Regions from separate parts of the Homo sapiens genome. Here region 2 is linked to region 1. The links are contacts of gene promoters, found by promoter capture Hi-C in blood cells and fetal thymus (Javierre and others, 2016). All regions are on one chromosome and are shown on one strand. The core of a region is centred on a gene start or on the middle of the fragment in contact, and the rest is flanking DNA. Distances in the headings are between cores, read along the strand shown.

Region 1 (4,699 bases), core at 202-2,701:
AGCTCCACCTAATTTCTCTCCTAGAAATCTCCTCAGTAGTCCTTTCCTTCATTTCTTCTTCTGACAGATCAAATAATCCCTTTTAAAATATTAATAGTAAATCAGAATTGATAACAAGTACAATGGCAATAAAAAATTTAAAAACTATATTGAGTAGTAGCTGTAGTGCTCATAGTATGATTTTTGTTTGTTTTGGTTTTTTTAATTGAGACAGGGTCTCACTGTGTTACCCAGGCTGGTCTTGAATTCCTGGGCTCAAGCAATCCTCCTGCCTTGGCCTCCCAAAGTGCTGGGAATACAGGCGTGAGCCACTGTGCCCAGCCAATGCTAATAACATGAAGAAACCCACTGAGTGACCACTCCTAGAGACACTATCATGTCAACTTGAGACCTTGGGAGACACAGAAAAACAAATATAAAGATAGAATTACAGGCAAGAAGGACGTAATCCTGGGGCCAAGGACCTTCCTTAACACTTCCTAAAACCAAAATAGGTGGCTTATTAGATGCATTCTTGGCTGCAGAGGAAAAATGATAAGCAACTCACCCTCCCATCTCAGATTGAGGGGTTGTCTTGGTAATGACAATTGTCTTCCCAAGCTTGGATTCCAAGTCCACCTTGTAGTCCCTATGCCGTAAAAGCTCTCGCTTGACAGGCTGCACTGGTTTTCCTGAAACATAATGGGGAAGGAAGTCCCTTCAATATTATAGTTCCTCAACCAGAAAGGAAAAAAAATGCATGAAATCCAAAATTCAGGTCTTACTCATTTCAAAATCATTCCTGAAAGGACACAACAGACACTTAAAGTAGCAGCTGGGGAGAATCTCAACACAGGAAGAAATCATAAGCAATCCTCAACTCTACAGCTTTTCTCCACTTTAAAGCCAGCAAATCTAAAAACAGTATGTTTTATATTCATTGATTAACTGAATTGTGGGGGAGAATTTCTGAAGAATTACTAGAAGCAACTTTTTCAAAACGGGAGCAAGGACATTCAAGAATGCTTTCAGGCAGATACCCTAGGCATAACGGAAAGGAACCTTCTGAGAGCTGGGCAAATTTATAAAAGGGGACCAACATCTAGGAAATGCCTGTTACATGTCAAGCACTATTTATTTTACATGTTACATAAAAAATGAAAGAGTTAGTGAGTGCAAGGTGGCCTGGAGGTAAAGGGAAAGAAGAATGTACACGTTTGAAACAGATGACAAAATAAAACATTTCTTTATGCAATCTCTTAAACAGGAGAGAAGCACCAACTCCCTGATGTACAAGGCACAGAGAAACAGCACTACTAAGCTCTAGCTGAAACAATCACAGATCCTGCAAAGTTCCCCGGCTTTTCTCAGACTATATGGGAGGGTCTTGATTGGGCCAGGAATGTTCTCTCCCTTAAGAAATTTCAAGGGAAAGAGGGGGGTCACTGATAGCGGTAATGCACAGCAGCAAAATACTCTACTTAACTTCTCTGTCACTACTAAGGATGCCGTTATCTTCTCTGTACTTCAGGAAAGCATTAAACGAGCCAAGCAAAGGGTGGGCAAGGAAGCAGAGTGAAATAGAGCTGAAGAGCATCTCAAAACTACTTACTTCATCCCACCTCCTCGCTCTCATTTTGTAAATGCAGAAACCTAGGCCCAGGGAAGCAGCACTCTGCCAGAGCTTACACCGCGTGGGAAGGCAGCGCACTTCAACTCCCACCCGCTCTCCATCATCGCATCGCCTCTGTGATACCCTTAGCCCTTGATGTAGTTAGCACCCACCATCTTTCTTTTCTCTCTCTTCCGTGAGCCTCTTCTCGGCGAGTTTCTCATATTCATCTTTGTCCCACTTTCGGCGAAAGTCCAAGTTTTTTGTCTGTGGGGAGGAAAAAGCGTCAAGATCCGTCGCCGTGTCTGGGCCCCTAGAGAAGCAGGGAACCGCGCCCTCGCGGTCCAGGTGTCTACAGGACGTTTTGAAAGCAAAGCCTCTTTGGACTGTACGAGAAGACTGAGGTAGCCTCAAGACCCCAACCCGAGAAACCTCCGCGATTCTACTGACCCTCTGCCAAGGCCTATTACTGGGGAGTTCTTGAACCTGAACCCTGGGATCTCGAGGAGATATCGGGAAGCCAGTCGGGTGCAGGAGTTTGTCTCTATTCAGGTCTGAAAAACCATTCCCCACCCCGCAAAACCTCCTCCTCAGACACAACACCTACCCCGCTGCCCGACGCCATCTTCACAGCGAAGTGAATGGCGAGCTGAAAAACGCCGTAAAAAGCGGCTTGGAGCCGTAAGGCAAGATAGCCCTCCAATAAGCTTGGAGTCTTGTGTTCTAAACGAGCTAAGGACTGGAGGGTTTCTAAAACAGGCTTGTTGGCCCCGCCTCTGCTCCAAGGAGACAGCGCAGGCGCAAGAGGAGTATGAAGCAACACGGAAGTAAGGGCGCTTGCAATTGTTTTTTGCCTTGGATTTCAAAACAAGCATTAAAGGGTCAAGATTTAGTTCAACTATTTTACAAACAAGGAAACTGAGGTTCGCAAAACAGTGGTCTCTGATCTAGTCTAGCAACTTTGCGTCCACTGCCAAGAATTTCTAAACCTTTTTTAAGGCCGAAGCGCCATTAGGGGGTCTAGATGCCTCTCATTCACCTGCATGCACTAGGGATATGACCCTAAACTACACTGAAACGTTTGCAACAGAGGCACCCTTCCCGACGCACATATAAAAAGCATGTTTTGCACTTGGGCTCTTTTCCTTGAAGCAATGCTACCACCCTTTGGTTCACTTATTTTTCCATCATCTGGGGAACTTTATAGTAGAACATAATTTAATCAGCATAATTGGATTTGGAAAGGCCAGTCATCAACAACACTCTAGAGTGAAGCACTGTGGCATACCGGCTCACTATATGTTGATTTTTAGCAACAAAACTACCTCTTGGCCGGGCACAGTGGCTCATGCCTGTAATCCCAGCACTTTGGGAGGCTGAGGTGGGTGGATTATGAGGTCAGGAGTTTGAGACCAGCCTGGCCAAGATGGTGAAACCCTGTCTCTACTAAAAATACAAAAATTAGCTGGCTACTCGGGAGGCTGAAGCAGGAGAATCTCTTGAACCTGAGAGGCGGAGGTTGCAGTGAGCCGAGATCACGCCACTGCACTCTAGCCTGGGTGACAGAGCAAGACTCCGTCTAAAAACAAACAAACAAAAAAACTACCTCTTGAGGAGACAGGGAAAGAGGGAGAAACTGTGGCTGCTCATCACTGAATACAGAAGCATCATCCCAGGGAGGTTACTTCTACCTCACAGAATTCTCCAATGTACACTCAAGCATTTTCTATGGTCTATGCAAACAAAGCCCTTGATAACAATAACAAATTACCCAAACTACTACACTTAATATTTTATTTAACATGTTATCCAACCACTTCTAAAACAGCCTCCATGGCACGGTATGGAATAGAGCAGTGATTCTGGCACAGGAAATGGTCTCCAAAATCTCAAAATATCAGATCTCTACCTTGTCAAGTCATCTATTAAGTTCAATGTTCAAGATTATCAAGCATACAGCCCCACTCTTCTACTGTAAGCAATGGATGGGCTAGAGAGATGTCAAATCAACATGGGTACTGCCATGCCCTTAGGATAGCATCTGTCCTCAAAGCTGAAAGCAGCCATTGCCCCTCTTTGCTGTCTTCCAAAAACTCCCCAGACAGGCCAATGGCTGATTGTGGACAAATTCACCAGAATCTGGTTCCGTAGCTACAGTAGAAGGCTAAGTATCTGGTTTCTGATCTCAATGGTTCAGAATCCTGAGCCTGAGGTGACTCTCCCAGAGCCTTGCTCACAGCAACAATCTCACTACCTCTTGACAACGTTCCGTGGCACTTCAAATTTGCCTCTGCAGCTAGAGCATGTCTCTTTCACATCCAGCCATCTGCACCCATGCAGAATAGCTGCTCACACTAGCCCAGGAGTCCTCAGGGTCTTCTACAGTTCTGCACCCAGGAAGAATGGAGGAGGCAGAAGGTACTTGTCACCCTTCCTGGCTAGTTGTTGTGAAGTCCATCACTCAATTCCAGAGGAATTCAGTTCTAGAGGAAACCTTTTCTACAAAGAGCAGCAGATGGGAATCAGGCAAGGATCAAGACTCAGACAGTCGCTTCTGAATTTCAGCCACAAAATTTTCCCGTTTAATGGCCACCTGAAACATAAGAGAATCCTCATGTGATAAACTAGAAAGTGATACTAACTCCTTAGCCACTGTTTTTCCAGATTTGTTTTACTCTGCATCTTCTCCCATTACTTATACAACCAGAAAGGAGTAGTGTGGGTTGACCTGAAGAATGTATACCCTCAAGATGAAAGGGATTCAAACACCTGATCTATGTCTATTATGTTGATTAGTCTCAAAATACCCATTCGGATTTCATTTGTCTTTCTTCTGGCCACCCAGTCAATACTCACAGGCAGCAATGGTCATCTTGAGTGAGTGTTTGTTCATCTCTACCACTATTAACCATGAAGATAATTTCTCAGCCAGAAGATGCATATTTCTTACAGAATCTGGGAAAGGCAGAAATACTTCGTCCCTTCTATTTCTGCTGCCGCCACTCACCTCCTCTCTGCTGGCCACTGAACGGATCTTGATGACCCCTTCTTTCAGTTCTTGCTCACCAATAATGACCACCAGTGGAATGCCTGTGCTCTCACAATAGT
Region 2 (4,725 bases), core at 1,439-3,938, 530 kb after region 1:
ATTAGTTGGCCACTTCAAATAGTATCAAAGAGATTTGGAAAACAGTTACTTTTCTAAATTTTTTAATGAGGCCAAGACATCTGATTTCCAGCGATTCTTAATATTAACAAGCTCCTGCAAAGCCCCTTAAAAATCACTATCATAATCTCTACCACTCAACAGGAACACACGGGGAAAAAACTACTCTGGCCTTTTACACACTTCGGGGCTTCTTTTACAGAGAATGACTTCACTGATCTGACTGGAAGTCCCGTTTCCCCAGGTCTCACCCTGGATTTGCACTCCTTTGAGTGCTGCACCGGTTTCTATATTTACGCACAAACCAGCTGCGGCCACCTTCCTTCGCAATTCCCAAACCTGCCTTTCACTGTACAGGATCCCTGGAGGTCCAATTCTGTTTTCTGGAGTCAAAGAAATACAAAATAATTTCACTACCTCCCAGAAAACAGACTTTGGTAAGTTTCAATATAAAATAGACAGCTCTTGAACCCAGGAGGCAAAGGTTGCAATGAGCCAAGATCTCGACACTGCACTCCAGCCTGGGCGACAGAGCAAGACTCCGCCTCAAAAATAAACAAATAAATAAAATAAAATAGACAGCTGTGTATTTTTGGTCCTAGCACCAATAAATTTCAGGGCTGGGAAAAATCATAAATTACCAAAGCATTCCTCTTCATATAACCAAAATATATTTTTCCTGTTGCTCAGGAAATTAAGACAAAATAGCCAACTAACACTTACGCAGCCTTACACGGAGAAACTCAAAGCTGGCAGGAAAGGACTAGAGATTTTTTTTTTTTTTTTTTTGAGACAGAGTCTCGCTCTGTCGCCCAGGCTGGAGTGCAGTGGCGCAGCCTCGGCTCACTGCAAGCTCCACCTCCCGGGTTCACGCCATTCTCCTGCCTCAGCCTCCCGTGTAGCTGGGATTACAGGCGCCCGCCACCACGCCCGGCTTATTTTTTATATTTTTAGTAGAGACGGGGTTTCACCGTGTTAGTCAGGATGGTCTCGATCTCCTGACCTCGTGATCCGTCCGCCTCGGCCTCCCAAAGTGCTGGGATTACAGGTGTGAGCCACCGCACCAGGCCAGGTCTAGAGATCTTTGATCTACAATCAACAAATAGTATGGGACTCCTTTCAGCGAATCCAATGCCCCACATGAATGTTTGGATGCTGGTTCTCCTTTAATAACTTCCCCCTATTAAATCTCTTACCAGTCATTTGGGGTTTGGGTTTCACCCTAGGGATACAAGGTGTTTGTAAGTCACTCTGAAACCTCTGAAGGGCAAAGTGTTGTGGACGCTATAATCTCCCTGCATACTGAGGGGGGCATAGCTCCCAACCAGTCATTAAATCCCGTCAAATGAGATACTCGAAAATGAGCTGCCCTTGGGTGGGTCCTTTCATAAAAAGGAATTTTTAAAAATCTGCTAACATGGTTACTCCACAAAGTTTACATGTATCATATTGTATAAATCTATAAATATGTACAATTATTTTTTGTTTAATTTCTAAAAATTTGCCAACAATGGCTGAAAAAGGCACCTGGCTGCCTGAGCCCCTACCCTTGTCGGTTACAAGTATTTCATAAGCAGGGTTTGAGGAATCCCATCAGAGAAGAGTGTTGTCACCTTTTTGCCGGAATGTCACACCAACTTCCTCAGTGTTCCCCTCACACCAACTTCCTCAGTGTTCCCCCTACCCCAATCTAGCCAACGTTTCAATGGCTCCCCACAGCACACAGTGCCTCTCAGGTGGGCACTCAAGGGTCCTTTCCTAATCCTCCCTAACCTAATTCTCCAAACTTTTTTTCCCCCAAAACAGCCCAGCAGACGGTCCAGTCAGTCCCCAAATCGTTTTTCCTCATGGTCTCCTTCCCCAGGGGTCCTCCCCTCCTTCTCTCCCCCCTGCAACCTCCACTGCTACCGGGAGATTAGTTCCCACCCGTCAGGACCCCGCTCAGATTTCACTTCCTCCAACAGGTCCGCTCAGATCCCAATCCACGGCTCTCAACAGCAGCCGGGATTCCTTTCCCCCGCAACGCCTTCTCTGAACACCCCGGCCTCCGAGCGCCGGCTTTGCGTTCCCTAGTTACTTCCAGTCACTAGTTACTTCCGCTCCGCTCCCACCCGCGGGACTCGCGACCTGCCCCCTGCCCCCGGCTGGCCCAGCTCGGAATAGGCAGAGCAGCGCCTCAGAAATCGCAGCCCAAGGCGAAGAAATCCAGAAGCCTCCCGCGGACGTCCCCCGGGACGGGGTGTGGCGAGCCCCGCTCCGAGCCCGCCGACTCCTCGTGAGACGAGAACCGCAGCGACGCGGAGACCCTGTGAGTCCACCGCCGAGACGCGCGGCGCGGCGACCAGGAGCCCCAGAGTAGCCGCGGGGCGCCGGGAGGGATCCAGCTGGCGGCAGCAGCTTCCCTGCCTCCCTGCCCCTCCCCAGGGGCTGCGCGAACCCCTGCCTGAGCCAGGCCAGCCCGGGTGCCCCCCAGTTCTCAGGGCGCTCCCCAGGGAGCCCGGGGACGCGCCCTGTCCGTGCCTGATCCCCGCCCTGGTCCCAGCTGGGTCGGGCCAGGTCCGCTGCACCTCACCTCTCCTCTCCACGAACCGACTGGATAACGGTCGGGTCTGAACCTGAGGAGCCCGGACCAGCCCGCAGTAGACTTGCCGCACCTGTCTCAGAGCAAGTGAGGAGCAGCCGGGCGCCTGACGTCACGGCCGCTCCCAGCGCCGCGAACCGGGAGTCACCTGATCACCCTGGCAACGCGCGCGGCGCGGGGCGAGGCGAGGCTTGCGTCACAGCACGAGCCCCGCCCCCAACTGCTCGGCCTCCAAGCGCCGCCGGAAGCGCTCTCTTGCAGTCGGCGCAGTCGGGAGGCGGGGTCGGTCTCCGACTTCCCAACGTGGGCCTCCCAGCTGCGCTGGATACTTAGGACTCCCACAGGCGTCCCCCTCAGATTGGATTGGTTCTCCGAGACTCCACCCGATACCCCAACTCCGCTAGTTCAGGCGCCTGGGAGGCAAGACCAGCGTCCATGCGGAACCCTGCTCAGTGCGTGGCATGAGGGGTCGGCTGTGGGCTGCTGCCTCCTCGTGTCTTGTTGGTCCAGACCCAACTAGGGTTGGGGGCTTACTTCCCGAGCTGTACCTGAGCGGAATGGGGCTGAGGCTGATAACTGGATTGCTCTCTGGCTACTTTTCCCCATAAACCTTGCAACAAGTAGTCCCGCCAGTACTTTAGAGTGTAATGAGACTTCATTCACATCAGGAGGGGGAAGGGGGACAGAATCTTCTGTCCTGAAGGTTTCCTTCTTCTGTTCCAACAGGAAGAGAAGTTACCGAAAAGCTCCCAGAGCAAGGCCTAGAATGAGCTTGCAAGTCCTACTTGCAAAAAATTTTTTATTTTTCATTTTAGAAATTGATTTTCTCTCCATATTCCTCCCCTTGCTTGCTATTAGGTTGGTGCAAAAGTAATTGTGGTTTTTGCATTTTTTTTTTAAATGGCAAAAACAGCAATTACTTTTGCACCACTCTAATATAAGTATATGCCTACAACTTTTGTTACTCTCTAGGCTTCCCAGATAAGACTATCAGCTTCGAAATGAAAATTTAACATCCCCTGGAGGTCTCAGTGTGAGAGTCACTGCCTATTTCACACCTTCACTATTTGCTGACTTTCATTTCAGTTTTACTCTCCTCATCCCTGCACTGCCAAGAAGGTTTCATATGTATTGAAACCTTCCCTCTCAAGAGTTTAGGATCTTAGACCAAGAAGTTAGTTTATAGTCAACTTCTTGTGAGCATCTTTTAGTGTCAGGCAATGGGCCATGGGCAGATTGAGATGTGGTTCTCGAAGATCAAACGTGTATGGGTGGTATGTCTCACATAAGTACAACTTGTACTGTTTATTATGACTTAATCATTGTATTTAAGTGGCACTTTTTAATTTTCACACTTAAAGAAACTCATATAAGTGGGAAAGAAGACAGCTGTGAAAGGTAGAGAAGAACCATGGCTCTAGACAGAGCTGTACTAATAGGAGAGAAGAGATTGAAAATGTGAGCCCAGGTCCCAAGGAGCACAGAGGCATGGTCAGAAGGTTGGTAGGAACAGGACAGAGGCAGCCAGGCCTGAGGTGTTTGGCAGATCTGAGGAGGGCAGGGATAGAGGGTGAGGGGAGGAGTGGGGCCAGAATGAGGCTTGAGGGATTCAATGGAGGGCGAAAGTGCTGGGAAGGGAGGAGGGATTGGAAAGAAAGGAGAAGTATGCAGTGGTTTGGGAAGGAGTTGCTGAAAGGGAGGGCAGGGTAAATAGAGACCCAGGAAAGGGTGCTAAGAGCATTAAGAGAAGGGAGGCTGAGAGGCTACAAAAAAGGACTGAGGGGGAGGAAGAAGCAGGTGGGAGACTCTGGGGCAGCAAACATCTCAGAACCAGTCAGTAGGTGGTGTCCTTCAGAGGCTGTTGGAGAAGAGCAGCATTGTCTGTTTGCCTCTGAAGAGTGAAGGTGATCCATGCACACCCCAAACTACCTCTGGACCATCTGAGGGTAAGAGCCACCCTTTGCAGAGCACTAATGCAGAGGGAAGAGCAGAAACAGGCACGTCCATAACTACACCCTGATAGTACTCAAGGCAGTCAGGCTTTTTGGCTGGACAGTTTTTCAGGCCTGTGGTACATGCCTCCGTGCCTCTAATCTGGGCAGGGCAAGGTGAGGATGGAGTGGAAG

What was found. The method cuts DNA at HindIII sites, captures the fragments that hold promoters and counts their contacts. A CHiCAGO score of 5 or more calls a contact.
Region 2: the fragment with the promoter of CYSTM1 here is called in contact with a fragment that was not itself captured in region 1 in 9 of 17 cell types (fetal thymus, activated CD4 T cells, naive CD8 T cells and 6 more); the score reaches 7.2 in fetal thymus.

Annotation. Positions count from the first base shown.
Region 1 is chr5:140,697,978-140,702,676 of GRCh38, reverse strand. It overlaps ZMAT2 (zinc finger matrin-type 2), which reads right to left and starts at 2,230. Exons shown (of 6, transcript NM_144723.3): 1 at 2,199-2,230; 2 at 1,765-1,858; 3 at 548-671. The coding sequence starts at 2,216. HARS2 (histidyl-tRNA synthetase 2, mitochondrial) reads right to left here. Exons shown (of 13, transcript NM_012208.4): 12 at 4,599-4,699; 13 at 3,372-4,184. The coding sequence ends at 4,125. RefSeq lists an enhancer at 1,902-1,971. The HindIII fragment of the contact is 1,698 bases long and covers 603-2,300 here.
Region 2 is chr5:140,173,151-140,177,875 of GRCh38, reverse strand. It overlaps CYSTM1 (cysteine rich transmembrane module containing 1), which reads right to left and starts at 2,688. Exons shown (of 3, transcript NM_032412.4): 1 at 2,591-2,688. RefSeq lists a silencer at 2,301-2,590 and an enhancer at 2,881-3,110. The HindIII fragment of the contact is 7,638 bases long and covers 1-4,725 here.